Linked DNA regions of Homo sapiens: region 2 is linked to region 1. The links are contacts of gene promoters, found by promoter capture Hi-C in blood cells and fetal thymus (Javierre and others, 2016). All regions are on one chromosome and are shown on one strand. Each heading gives the region's core, a stretch centred on a gene start or on the middle of the fragment in contact. The rest is flanking DNA. Distances are from core to core; before and after follow the strand shown. Region 1 holds the start of PPM1E (protein phosphatase, Mg2+/Mn2+ dependent 1E). Region 2 overlaps TRIM37 (tripartite motif containing 37).

Evidence for each region. The method cuts DNA at HindIII sites, captures the fragments that hold promoters and counts their contacts. A CHiCAGO score of 5 or more calls a contact.
Region 2: a contact is called between a fragment that was not itself captured here and the fragment with the promoter of PPM1E in region 1, in 2 of 17 cell types (M0 macrophages and M1 macrophages). The highest score is 6.5, in M0 macrophages.

What each region holds. Positions count from the first base shown.
Region 1 is chr17:58,752,439-58,758,596 of GRCh38, reverse strand. It overlaps PPM1E (protein phosphatase, Mg2+/Mn2+ dependent 1E), which reads right to left and starts at 2,743. Exons shown (of 7, transcript NM_014906.5): 1 at 2,136-2,743. The coding sequence starts at 2,599. It overlaps LOC105371843 (a long non-coding RNA gene), which reads left to right and starts at 2,487. Exons shown (of 3, transcript XR_007065866.1): 1 at 2,487-2,566. RefSeq lists silencers at 2,587-2,735, 2,735-2,924. The HindIII fragment of the contact is 8,580 bases long and covers 1-3,423 here.
Region 2 is chr17:59,042,119-59,048,276 of GRCh38, reverse strand. It overlaps TRIM37 (tripartite motif containing 37), which reads left to right. Exons shown (of 24, transcript NM_015294.6): 16 at 458-594. Among named protein-coding and RNA genes, the nearest start is that of TRIM37, 62 kb to the left of the region's middle. The HindIII fragment of the contact is 861 bases long and covers 4,431-5,291 here.

The DNA of each region.
Region 1 (6,158 bases), core at 1,494-3,993:
TGGCCATTTTATCATTTCAGTTTTTTCTAGTTTATACCTATATCAAAATTAATCTTTTTTTTTTTTTTTGAGACGGAGTCTTGCTCTGTCACCCAGGCTGGAGTGCACTGGCACAATCTCAGCTCACTGCAACCTCTGCCTCTCGGGTTCAAGCGATTCTCCTGCCTCAGCCTCCTGAGTATCTGGGATTACAGGCGCGCGACACCACGCCCAGCTAATTTTTGTATTTTTAGTAGAGACGCAGTTTCACCACGTTGGTCAGGCTGGTCTCGAACTCCTGACCTCATGATCTGCCACCCCGGCCTCCCAAAGAGCTGGGATTACGGGAGTGAGCTACCGCTCCTGGCCGCTTCTATATGAAAAAACACACATCTTCTTGCCATCATCTTTAAATAAGTTAAAAAAAAAAAACCTTCTTACATGGCAAATGTTCAGGGTTGTACTAAAATAATGACCTTATTTGGACACTTTCTAAAGTTTGAATTGGTTTAATTCTGCAAACTGCATTTGTAAAGGTAAGAATTAACTGTCAAGATAGAGCCAGTCTGCTGCTAAGATAAATTCCCTTAATAAACATTTCCATTTTATTTTAAGCAGGGAGCTTTATCTTTAAATACTGTAAAAAATTACATCTCAGAAGCCCTTGTCTATGATAGTTCACAAAGACCAGATATACTCTAAAATGTTAATACTGTTTATCTCTGGGTGGTGGTATTACACGCCATTTTATATTTTACGTTTCTCAAAAAGCATCATTACCTTGCTAATTGACGGTAATACTGTAATTGAACAGTATTTTAAAATTAAATTTTAGATAGCTTATATTATGAAATACCAACACAGTCCACTTCTATGGAAGATTTGTTAAATGATTTTCCCCTATTGATAAACTGCTGCTTTAACAGGAGAATGATCTGATCAGGTGTCTATTAGCTTGGATGAAGACAAAACAGGTTTACTTTCCAGGCCCTTCTTTTCTTTAGGCTTTTGAGAAAATCCCAAAAGTGAGTTTGAACTTAATTACAGCGAATCTTGCAGTAGTAAACTTTTTGGGTGGCCAGAGTAACACCTTTCATTACAACTATCAGCTGAATGGCAAAAGACTTCCCAGGTTTACCAATGTTTTCAGAGACTTACTAGTATTCTCCTCTGTCATTATTTCGGAACAATTCCATTGAGAAACGCAATTGTAAACCGTTTCTATTTCAGGCCTATAAAAACCAGAACTGGGATGAAAGGCAAAGCCTTGACCTTTCTATTTTAGACTTTCATCTGTGTAGCTAAGCCATCTGCTTTCTCCCCACCCCATCCCATCTACTTAATGGACTGAAAATACTGCACCTAATTGCAATTTAATCAAAACAGCCTGACTTTTCCACTTTAATGAATTATGGCTCTTTCACCCGAAGGCTTGCTTGCAAAATTTTGCTTACCCTTCCCTCTCAATTCCTTCCCACTTCCCTCAATTATGGAATGTCAAATGTCTAAACTAAGAGACTAGGCTTCCCTGTGTGAAAACATCTAAAAAGCCCTTCACTTTCAACACTGAGCACCTGACGGAAAATCTACTCCATTCTCTCATCTGGATACGGGGCCGGTATAACCATCATTGTTGCAGTTACGCAGGAGGCACCTCGCAGCTCAGTCTAGAAAGGAGTCGCGTCTCTGCCGCCAAACAACAAGGCACTCAGCCCGGGAAAAGACAGACTGGGGTGGGAGGAAACCTCCCGGAGAAAGAAGGGATCTGGGAAGAAGAGGGAGCTCAAGCCTGGGAGGAAGGACCTTTCCAGGCAGGAAAGGGAAAGGTTGCGTGAAGTGGAGCTAGAAGCTGGGGGCCGAGGTGAAAGGGGATGAGGGGCCCGGGCCCGGCGGGAGGGCGCCGGGGCTCAGGAGAGCGGCTTCAAGGCCGGGTAGGAGGCGTGGGGGCCGAGGCGGGCGTGGGGGCCGAGGCGGGCGTGGGCAGCTCTCAGCCGACCGCCCGGGTCCGAGCAGCGGGGGCGCTTTCAGCGGCGGCAGGCGCGGGTGCGGGGGAGAGGAGCAGAAAAGAGAGCAGTTTGAGGGGCCGAGGGAGCCGCGTCCGAGGCCGGCGCGGTGGGGACCGCGGGCCCACCACCAGCCAAGCCCAGCTACTTAACTATTTGTAGAGCTGCTGCAGGCACAGGTCCAGGCTTTCGCCCTCCACCTCCTCGCGGGTGATGCGCTCTGACAGCGGTCGCGGGAGCGGGGGCAAAGGCGGCAGCTGGGGCGGCGGCGGCGGCACGGCCGAGTGCCCCGGGGCTGCCGCCGCCGTCGCCGCGCCCTCCTCCTCCTCCTCACCCTCAACCGCCGCCTCCTCCTCGGGCTCCGGGTCTTGCTCCTGGTCCCCCTCCTCCGTCGCGGCTACCGTGGCCGCCTCCTCCCCGGGTTCCTCTACCGAAGCCTCGGCCGCCTCAGCTTCTACCAGTTCAGGTTCGGGCTCGGGCTCGGACTCGGGTTCGGGTTCGGGTTCGGGTTCGGGTTCCGGCTCCGGCTCGCCGCCGCCGCACGGTCCGCGAAACTCGCCCAGGAATAGCTCCAGGAAGCGCCGGTAAGTTTTCTCCTCAGGGATGCAGCCGGCCATCGCTGCTCATGCCCCAGGGCAGACCGGGAAAGGGGTTGGGGGAAGCCCAGGAAGGGTAAGGGGCTGCTTTTGAGCCTAGGGCTCCGGCAAGGGCGGTTAACGGCCGCACCGGCACGAGCGATCAGCACTAGGTTGCCTGGAGAGGGCTCCCGCAGGCGTGCGCGCCGCCGAGCACCGACGTGCGCGGCCCGGGGGCGGAGCGCGCCGCCCCTCTCGGATCTGGAGGGAAAGTTGGTGGCGGGCGCGCGCAGGGTCCAGCGGCGGCCCACCCTTTATTCCTACGGAGAGCTCAGCCCACGCTGCCTAGAGACTGTCGCCATGGCAACCGGTTCTAATTAAGCATTGCAGGGTCCCTCCCGTCGAGTCCGCGGAGTCTAAAGGACACTCCACTCGCCCGCTCTCCAACTCTGAATGTCTTTATTGGTTGGATACCCTACCCTCACGTGGTTAAGAGTGAGCTAAGACATCTCCAAGTCTAGCTGTTGGTTCCCACTTGGGTTGCTTGGATCCCAATTGGATGTACTTCCATTTCCTTATCTGTTCCTTGCCTTAGCGTATGTTTTGAAAGATACCACACTGTGAACACCTTTTGTTGCAGTCTTTGAATAAGTAGTTTTCAGGCAGAGGGAGCTTCAAATACCTACCAAGTGATAAGTTCCTTTGCATAGGTTCTCTCTCACTTGATTCTGTGAAGAAAGTGGTGTTACTCTCATTTCTTAAAAGGAAACTGAAAATTATGATATTAATGGTAATTTACTTGTTTCAAGGTCTCCAAACTTCCAGCCTTGGCGTTGGAGAACTCAGGTCGTTCAGTCGCCAAAGCTTTCCGAAAGTGCATTTTTCCTTAACTCAACTCTGTCTCCGGAGATTCAATAGTGCAATTGTCTGTATAACACCTTATTTCTATTGGGCTTCATAGTTTACACATTGATTTCACCCTTTTAATTCTTACCACAGTCCCTTGAGGTATAGGACGTTACCGTTATGATTTTTTTTTTTTTGAGACAATCTCGCTCTTGTCACCCAGGCTGGAGTGCAGTGGCGCGATCTCAGCTCACTGCAACCTCCGCCTCTCGGGTTCAAGTGATTCTCCTGCGTCAGCCTCCCAAGTAGCTGGGATTACAGGGGCCTGCCACCACCCCCGGCTAACTTTTGTATTTTTAGTAGAGACGGGGTTTCACCATATTGGCCAGGCTGGTCTCAAACTCCTGACCTCAGGTGATCTGCCTGCCTCAGCCTCCCAAAGTGCTGGGATTACAGGTGTGACCCACCACGCCGGCCAATTATTCCATTTTATAGGTGAGAAAACAGCCTTAAAGACATGGTGACTTTGCTCAAGGTCACATGCAAGGGATGCAACAAGGACTCAATCCAGGTCTTTTCACTGGATTCACCCACTTCAATGGATTTTACCCATTAGTTTTCAGGCAACCAAGACTCCCCTCTTTAGTCTCTGCATAATGCATATTATACTTCATTATATAATATGTATTTTTTCTTTTCTCTTTCTTTTTTTTTTGAGACGGAGTTTTGCTCTTGTTGCCCAGGCTGTAGTGCAATGGCAGGATCTCGGCTCACTGCAACCTCTGCCTCCTGGGTTCAAGCGATTCTCCTGTCTCACCCTCCTGAGTAGCTGGGATTACAGGCATGTGCCACCACGCCCGGCTAATTTTTTTGTCTTTTTAGTAGAGACAGGGTTTCACCATGTTGGTCAGGTTGGTCTCGAACTCCTGATGTCAGATGATCCGCCTACCTTGGCCTCCCAAAGTGCTGGGATTACAGGCGTGAGCCACCGTGCCCGGCCAATAATATGTATTTTTTCTACATTTTGTTTGCTCTTCTTCCCCATCCCCCCAAGTCTCTTTTTTTCTTTCTTGGGTTGGAATTGAAATGACTTTAAGTGATTCTAATTTTCTTACCAAACTACACACAAACCTATTATTTTTAAGCCTTACTGAAGGAGTGGGAGAGAAAGAAGCTGTGTTGTTATACAGCTGTATAGATGATAGCATCATTACTGCAAACTGCCATGTCCATGGCAACATATAATTCAGCAAAAACATAGTGATTCTTTCTCTACTTTGAAAAACATGTTCTCACAAATTATCCACCCCATCCTCTCCATGTATTGTTTCTGGGTTTCAGTTGGATTTAGGGTCTGAAATATCGTTTCCAGTTATTAATGGCAGAAGAGGGAGTCTCTCTGCCAACTGTTTTCATATAATACTGTATTCTAAATCCCTGACCTGATACTGTTATTTTAAGATTAAGTGGGTTGAGCTCACTAATGTACATTATGGCATCATGTAAAACAGAGTTCCTCTCCTAGCTTGAGATTAAATAATACATGATAGAAAGAATATAGTGAATAATTGCCTTGAGTCCTCTATATTTTTTTCCCAAAGGTAAATGGAAAGATCTAATAAATCTGTTTCCAGAAATGCTGAATGTATTTATATGTGTTTTGTTTAAAACATAACCAGCGTAGAGCAACTTCTCTATGAGGTGCCAAGAAAGTCTTTAAACTCCTCATTTGTCTTTGTTTTCAATCCACCTGTTCATTTCCATTTCAGAATGTCTAGAAAAGATTGACAAAACTTTTTAGGCTGCAAACCTAAATGTCCACAATTTTACATTTCAACAATTGTTTAATATCTCAGAATTTGACATAATGACATTTAGTTCAAGAGTACTTAGCTGTCAACTGTAACAATTCATATCTACGCCTTCCTACTTTGTAACATAGTTGCCTCCCTCATTTGTGACATTAATTTATGACTCAGCCCACATTTCAAAGGAAAGTGATATATGTTGGGGAAACAATACTACTAAAAGAAAAAGCCCACACCTCTACATTACTATAAGTGAGAGGCGTGTTTGCTTATATTAATAAAGATATTCCTTCACAAAGATCAATATGGATCCTATTGCATCCATTTGACAAAGTAGCTTTGCCAGAAGGTAGCTGACAGCAAGTGCTGAGATCTCAGAGCAGCTGTGTAGGATGATTTTGCCATTGTCAAGAAGTCTTTAGTAATTATTTTGCATTAGTTTGCTCTCTTTTTCAACTCCTTTCTTATTACACTTTTCTAATCCCCTTGCATACTATCTATTAAAAAATATTGAGGGCTGGGCATGGTGGCTCACGCCTGTAATCCCAGCACTTTGTGAGGCTGTGATAGCTTGAACTCAAGAGTTCAAGACCAGCCTGGGCAACAAAGAAAAACCCTGTCCCTAAAATATATTTTTTAAAAAGGAGGCCAGGCGCGGTGGCTCATGCCTGTAATCCCAGCACTTTGGGAGGCCGAGGCGGGCGGATCACGAGGTCAGGAGATCGAGACCATCCTGGCTAACACGGAGAAACCCCATCTCTACTAAAAATACAAAAAATTAGCCGGGCGTGGTGGCGGGCGCCTGTAGTCCCAGCTACTTGGGAGGCTGAGGCAGGAGAATGGCGTGAACCCGGGAGGCGGAGCTTGCAGTGAGCCAAGATCGCGCCACTGCACTCCAGTCTGGGTGACGGAGCGAGACTCCGTCTCAGAAAAAAAATAAATAAATA
Region 2 (6,158 bases), core at 3,612-6,111, 290 kb before region 1:
GCAGTTAACCTTTGATAAACTGAGTTAAAGGAAGGGTGGAGTTTGCAGGTAAGGCAGCTGAAAAGTTGGGGAAGTTTTTGCTTAATAGTGGGTATTTTTTTTCTGTGCAGATAGGTGACAGTGTTAATTAATGACCTTGATAATGGTAAAATTAGGTAGAATTGAGGAGTGATGGTTTGAAACGTTACTCTGTGAGGAAGCTGATGTGGAATATGTGAAGGATTCCAGTCACACTGAGGGCCCAGCTGAAGGCGGCACGCATAAGTTAGTAAAATGATATCAGTCAGTGTGGTTGTGTGATTTTTCTCTACAGGGCTCAGCAGCTGAGGCACAGGAGCAGAAAATAGATTTTTGAAAACTGTATTATTCTTTGGTGCTTGGTTTATGGGCTGGATGGGGTGATCAACTGAGTAGAAACATTTGGAATAGACGTCTTGTTTTCTTGGCATTGATCTAGCACGAGCTTTCAGATGGAGATCTGGATCTGGATCTTGTTTATGAGGATGAAGTAAATCAGCTCGATGGCAGCAGTTCCTCTGCTAGTTCCACAGCAACAAGTAATACAGAAGAAAATGATATTGATGAAGAAACTATGTGAGTTTCCCACTTTACTACTGTAAAGCATTTAAGTGGTAATTATTAGAAGCATATTAACTAACTCACACTTAAATGTAGGGATATTCAGCACTTTTTTGAAAGATTGAATCAATAGTCAGTTTTCTCTCTCTAATCTCTGGGCTCTTAGCCAATAATTTTTGTTTGTGTTTTAACTTTTAAATTTGAATTTTGAAATTATTTTATACTTAAGAAAAGTTCAGAATTTCATGTTTCCTTCACACAGATTCATTCCCTATGAATATTTTGCTTTATATTTCTCTGTATATAATTTTTTCTGAAACACTTGAGATCGAATATACTTCTCATTGTGTACTTTTCTAAAAACAAGGATATTCTTACATAACTATAGAATAGTTATCAAAATCTGGAAATTAACATTGATGTAATACTGTAACCTTCTAAAAATTTGCCAGTAATGTCCTTTGTCAGGATCATGTTGCATTTAATTGTTAAATCGATTTAGTTATCTTCAATCTGGGTTACTTTTTTTTTTTTCCTTTTTTTTTGAGACGGAGTCTCGCTCTGTCGCCCAGGCTGGAGTGCAGTGGCATGATCTCAGCTCACTGCAAGCTCCACCTTCCGGATTACGCCATTCTCCTGCCTCAGCCTCCCGAGCAGCTAGAACTACAGGCGCCCGCCACCTCGCCCAGCTAATTTTTTGTATTTTTAGTAGAGACGGGGTTTCACCGTGTTAGCCAGGTTGGTCTTGATCTCCTGACCTCATGATCCGTCCACCTCGGCCTCCCAAAGTGTTGGGATTACAGGCGTGAGCCACCGCACCTGGCCAATCTGGGTTACTTTTTTAAAAATTTGTTTTTCGGCTGGGCACGGTGGCTCACGCCTGTAATCCCAGCACTCTGGGAGGCTGAGGCGGGTGGATCACGAGGTCAGGAGATCCAGACCATCCTGGCTAACACGGTGAAACCCCGTCTCTACTAAAAATACAAAAAAGAAATTAGCCAGGTGTGGTGGCAGGCGCCTGTAGTCCCAGCTACTTGGTAGGCTGAGGCAGGAGAATGGGGTGAACCCGGGAGGCGGAGCTTGCAGTGAGCTAAGATCACGCCACGGCACTCCAGCCTGGGCGACAGTTGAGACTCTGTCTCAAAAAAAAAAAAAAACTGTTTTTCATGACTAATACTTTCTGAGAAATACAGAATAGTTTATTTTGTAGAAAGTCCCTCAGTTTGGATTAGTCTGAAGTTTCCTCATGATTAGATAGAGGTTACACACTTTTGGCAGGGATACTACGGAAATGATAATGTATCCTTTTCACTGCGTCATACAGAGTGGAGCATGATGTCAGTATGTCCCATTACTTGTGGTTAATTTTGATCACTTAGTTGAGGTAGCATCCGCCAGGTTTCTTCACTCCAAAATTTGTACTTTTTCCTTTATAATTAATAAGTATCTTATGTATGGGACTGTAAATATCCTATTTTTCATCCTACTTTTTCCTATGAATTTTGACACCCTTTGATGAGTGTTGCCTGAAAAAGGTTACTGTGTTGATTGCCAAGTGGTGTTTTTCTAATTCCATTATTTCTTACTCATTCATTAGTTGCAATTTAAGGAAGAGCTTTTCCTTCTGCCCTGTTAATTGATGAACTAATGAATTTCATTAATGTGGATAATTTTTTTTTTTTGAGATGGAGTCTTGCTCTGTCACCCAGGCTGGCATGCAGTGTCACGATCTTGGCTCACTGCAACCTCCATCTCCTGGGTTCAAGTGATCCTTCCACCTCAGCCTCCCGAGTAGCAAGGATTACAGGCGTGCACCACCACGCCTGGCTATTTTTTTGTATTTTTAGTGGAGACGGGGTTTCACCATGTTGGCCAGGCTGGTCTTGAACTCCTGACTTCAGGTGATCTGCCCACTTCAGCCTCCCAAAGTGCTAGGATTACAGGTGTGAGCCACTGTGCCTGGCGATTTTTGGATTTTTAAACCAAGCTTGCATTCCTGGGACACATCCCACTTGGTCATAGTGTGTAATTTTTTTTCTTTTTTCTTTTTTTTTTTTTTGTGACGGAGTTTCGCACTGTCACCCGGGCTTAAGTGCAGTGGCATGATCTCGGCTCACTGCAACCTCCGCCTCCCGGGTTCAGGCGATTCTCCTGCCTCAGCCTCCCAAGTAGCTGGGATTACAGGCACCCACCACCACACCCAGCTAATTTTTTGTATTTTTAGTAGAGACGAGGTTTCACTGCGTTGGCCAGGCTGGTCTCAAACACCTGACCTCGTGATCCACCCGTCTTGGCCTCCCAAAGTGCTGGAATTACAGGTGTGATCCACTTCGCCCAGCCGTAATTTTTTTTTTCTTTTTTTTTTATTTGAAACGGAGTCTCGCTCTGTCCCCCAGGCTGGAGTGCAGTGGCGCAATATCCGCTCACTGCAAGCTCCGCCTTCTGGATTCACACCATTCTCCTGCCTCAGTCTCCCAAGTAGCTGGGACTACAGGTGCCCACCACCTTGCCCGGCTAATTTTGTTTTGTATTTTTAATAGAGATGGGGTTTCACCGTGTTAGCCAGGATGATCTCAATCTCCTGACCTTGTGATCTGCCTGCCTCGGCCTCCCAAAGTGCTGGGATTACAGGCATGAGCCACGGCACCCAGCAATTTTTTTTTTTTCCTAAGAGAATCTGGCTTTGTGGCCAGGCTGGAGTATGGTGGCATGATTATAGCTCCCTGTAACCTTCAACTCTGGCCTCAAGTGATCCACCTGCCTCAGCCTCCATAGTAGCTAGGACTACTGGTGTGCATCATCACACTCGGCTCATGATTCTTTTTATATGTTACTGCATTCTGTTTGCTAGTACAGTTGTCCCTCAGTATCCTTGCGGTATTGGTTCTAGGACCCCGCCCTTGGATACTAAAATCTGAGGATGCTCAAGTATCTTATATAAAATGGCAGAGTAGTTGCATATAACCTATGCACATCCTCCCCTATACTTTTAAATCATCTCTAGATTACTTATAATACCTAATACAATGCAAATGCTATGTAAGTAGTTGTTATACTCTATTGTATACAGAATAATGACAAGGGGAAAATGTCTGCGCATGACTTTATTTTGTTTTGTTTTATTTATTTTTTTTTGAGACGGAGTTTCGCTCTTGTCGCCCAGGCTGGAGTGCAGTGGCACAATCTCAGCTCACTGCAGCCTCCGTCTCCTGGGTTCAAGCAGTTCCCCTGCCTCAGCCTCCTGAGTAGCTGGGATTATACACGCCTGCCACTACGCCCGACTAATTTTTTGTAGTTTTAGTAGAGACAGGGTTTTGCAATGTTGACCAGGCTGGTTTTGAACTCCTGGCCTCAGGTGAGCCACAGCACCCGGCCGGCTTTATTTTTTGAGACGGGGTCTTGCCCTGTCACCCAAGCTGGAGTGCAGTGGTCGCGTGATCACAGCTCACTGCAACCTCGACCTCCTGGGCTCAAGTGATCCTCCCACCTCAGTTTTCCAAGTAGCTAGGACTACAGGTGCATGCCAACACACCTGGCTAATTTTTTAATATTTTGTAGAGACAGGGTCTCACTATGTTGCCTTACTATGTTCTAGGCTGGCCCGGAGCTCCTAGGCTCAAGAAGTCCCTCCAGCCTCGGCTTCCCAAAGTGCTGGGATTACAGGCATGAACCACCACACCAGGGCTTAAAAAATATTTTTGATCCACAGTTGGTTGAATGCACAGATGCAGAGCCCACAGATAAAGAAGGCCAACTATATTTCGTTGATGCTCTTAATAGTGTTGTATGTTTCTCTGAGTGTTGTATGTGTCTCTGCTTCTCCCCATAGGCAAAATCTCTGAGCCAAAGCTTTGAAGTTGGAGTAAGGATAAAGGTGTACCTCTCTTACTTTAGAAGCTGAGCTAACTGGATGTTGGGGACAGTAGCCTTAGTTCTTTCCTTTTCAGGCTTGGGACCTCCACCTTATGAATAAGCTGGGGCAGGGATGATCTGGGCCCCAGTATTCTCATCATGCTGCATCCAGGTAGAGCATCTAGTCCACAAGTGGGTCTCAGCAGAAGGGAGTCTCCACCTCTTGGCCGTGTGTGCCTGTACTATAGCATCAGCAATAGGTAGCTGGGGGCAGAATGAGAGATGCTGATACCTTGCCACTCCCAGGAATATAGCCCTCCTCTTGGAAGTTCGGGAAGTGGGAGGCCTGTGTTCTTCACTGCACCAGTCTGGAGTGGAATTTCTGTAACACCAAGTTAGGAAGTGGAGTGATCTTGGTTCAAATACTGCAGATGCCCACTTGTCTTACCCAGTTTTTATAGATTTTTTTGAGTAGATGTTTCTTCATTTGCTGTATGCCCTTGGGACCATTTCCAGAGTCGTTAAGTGGTTGTTTTTAAAATAATTGTCACCAGTTTGACTAAAGAGCAGACCTACAGAGCTCCTTACATTGTCAAGCTGGGTGCTTATCTTGAGATTTCCTTAAATACCCAAGACTGTCATTGACTGGTACTGTTTCAAGTAGTATGTTGTTTAAAATAAAGTAATAGTGATTGTTTTTTAACATGAGAGACTTTGTATGGCCGAGTAGGAAGTAATACCCTCTTTGCTGAAATATTATTTTTGAAAAATGGTATTTAGTCATATACAGTAATTTGGGCTTTTTTTGGATGTTAAAATGTAGTGTTTTAAGCCTAACACTACATGTAGTGTTTTAAGCTTATTGCCATTAAGCTACCAGTTCTCTGAAGCTGTAATTTCTTCTAACAGTGGTTCTTGTATTTATTAGTGTTTCTAACACTAATTAAATAGGAGAGATTAATCTCTTCTAATAGTGGTTCTTAGATTTTTTAGTGTTTCATTTATTTCTATTTTTTTGCCTGACACAGTTCTTTTTTTTTAATCTTCCTTTCCTTTCCTTTCCTGTCCTGTCCTGTCCTCCTTGAGACAGAGTCTCGCTCTGTCGTCCAGGCTGAAGTGCAGTAGTGCAATCTTGGCTCACTACAACCTCCACCTCCCGGGTTCAACCGATTCTGCTGCCTCAGCCTCCCGAGGAGCTGGGATTACAGGTCCCCACCACAACGCCCAGCTAATTTTTGTATTTTTAGGAGAGACAGGGTTTTGCCATGTTGGCCAGGCTGGTCTCGAAATCCTGACCTCAGGTGATCCTCCCACCTTAGCCTCCCAAAGTTCTGGGATTTCAGGCGTGAGTCACTGCGCCCGGCCTTGAGATATATATATATATATATATATATATTTTTTTTTTTTTTTTTTTAAATTCCTTTTTTTCTTAGCTTTCTAAGAAGAACTGGCTGATTTTTTTTTTTTTTTTGAGATGGAGTCTCGCTCTGTCGCCCAGGCTGGAGTGCAGTTGTGCAATCTTGGCTCACTGCAAGCTTGCCTCCTGGGTTCACGCCATTCTCCTGATTCAGCCTCCTGAGTAGCTGGGACTACAGGTGCCTGCCACCACACCCAGCTAATTTTTTGTATTTTTAGTAGAGACAGGGTTTCACCGTGTTAGCCAGGATGGTCTCGATCTCCTGACCTCGTGATCCGCCTGCCTCAGCCTCCCAAAGTGCTGGGATTAC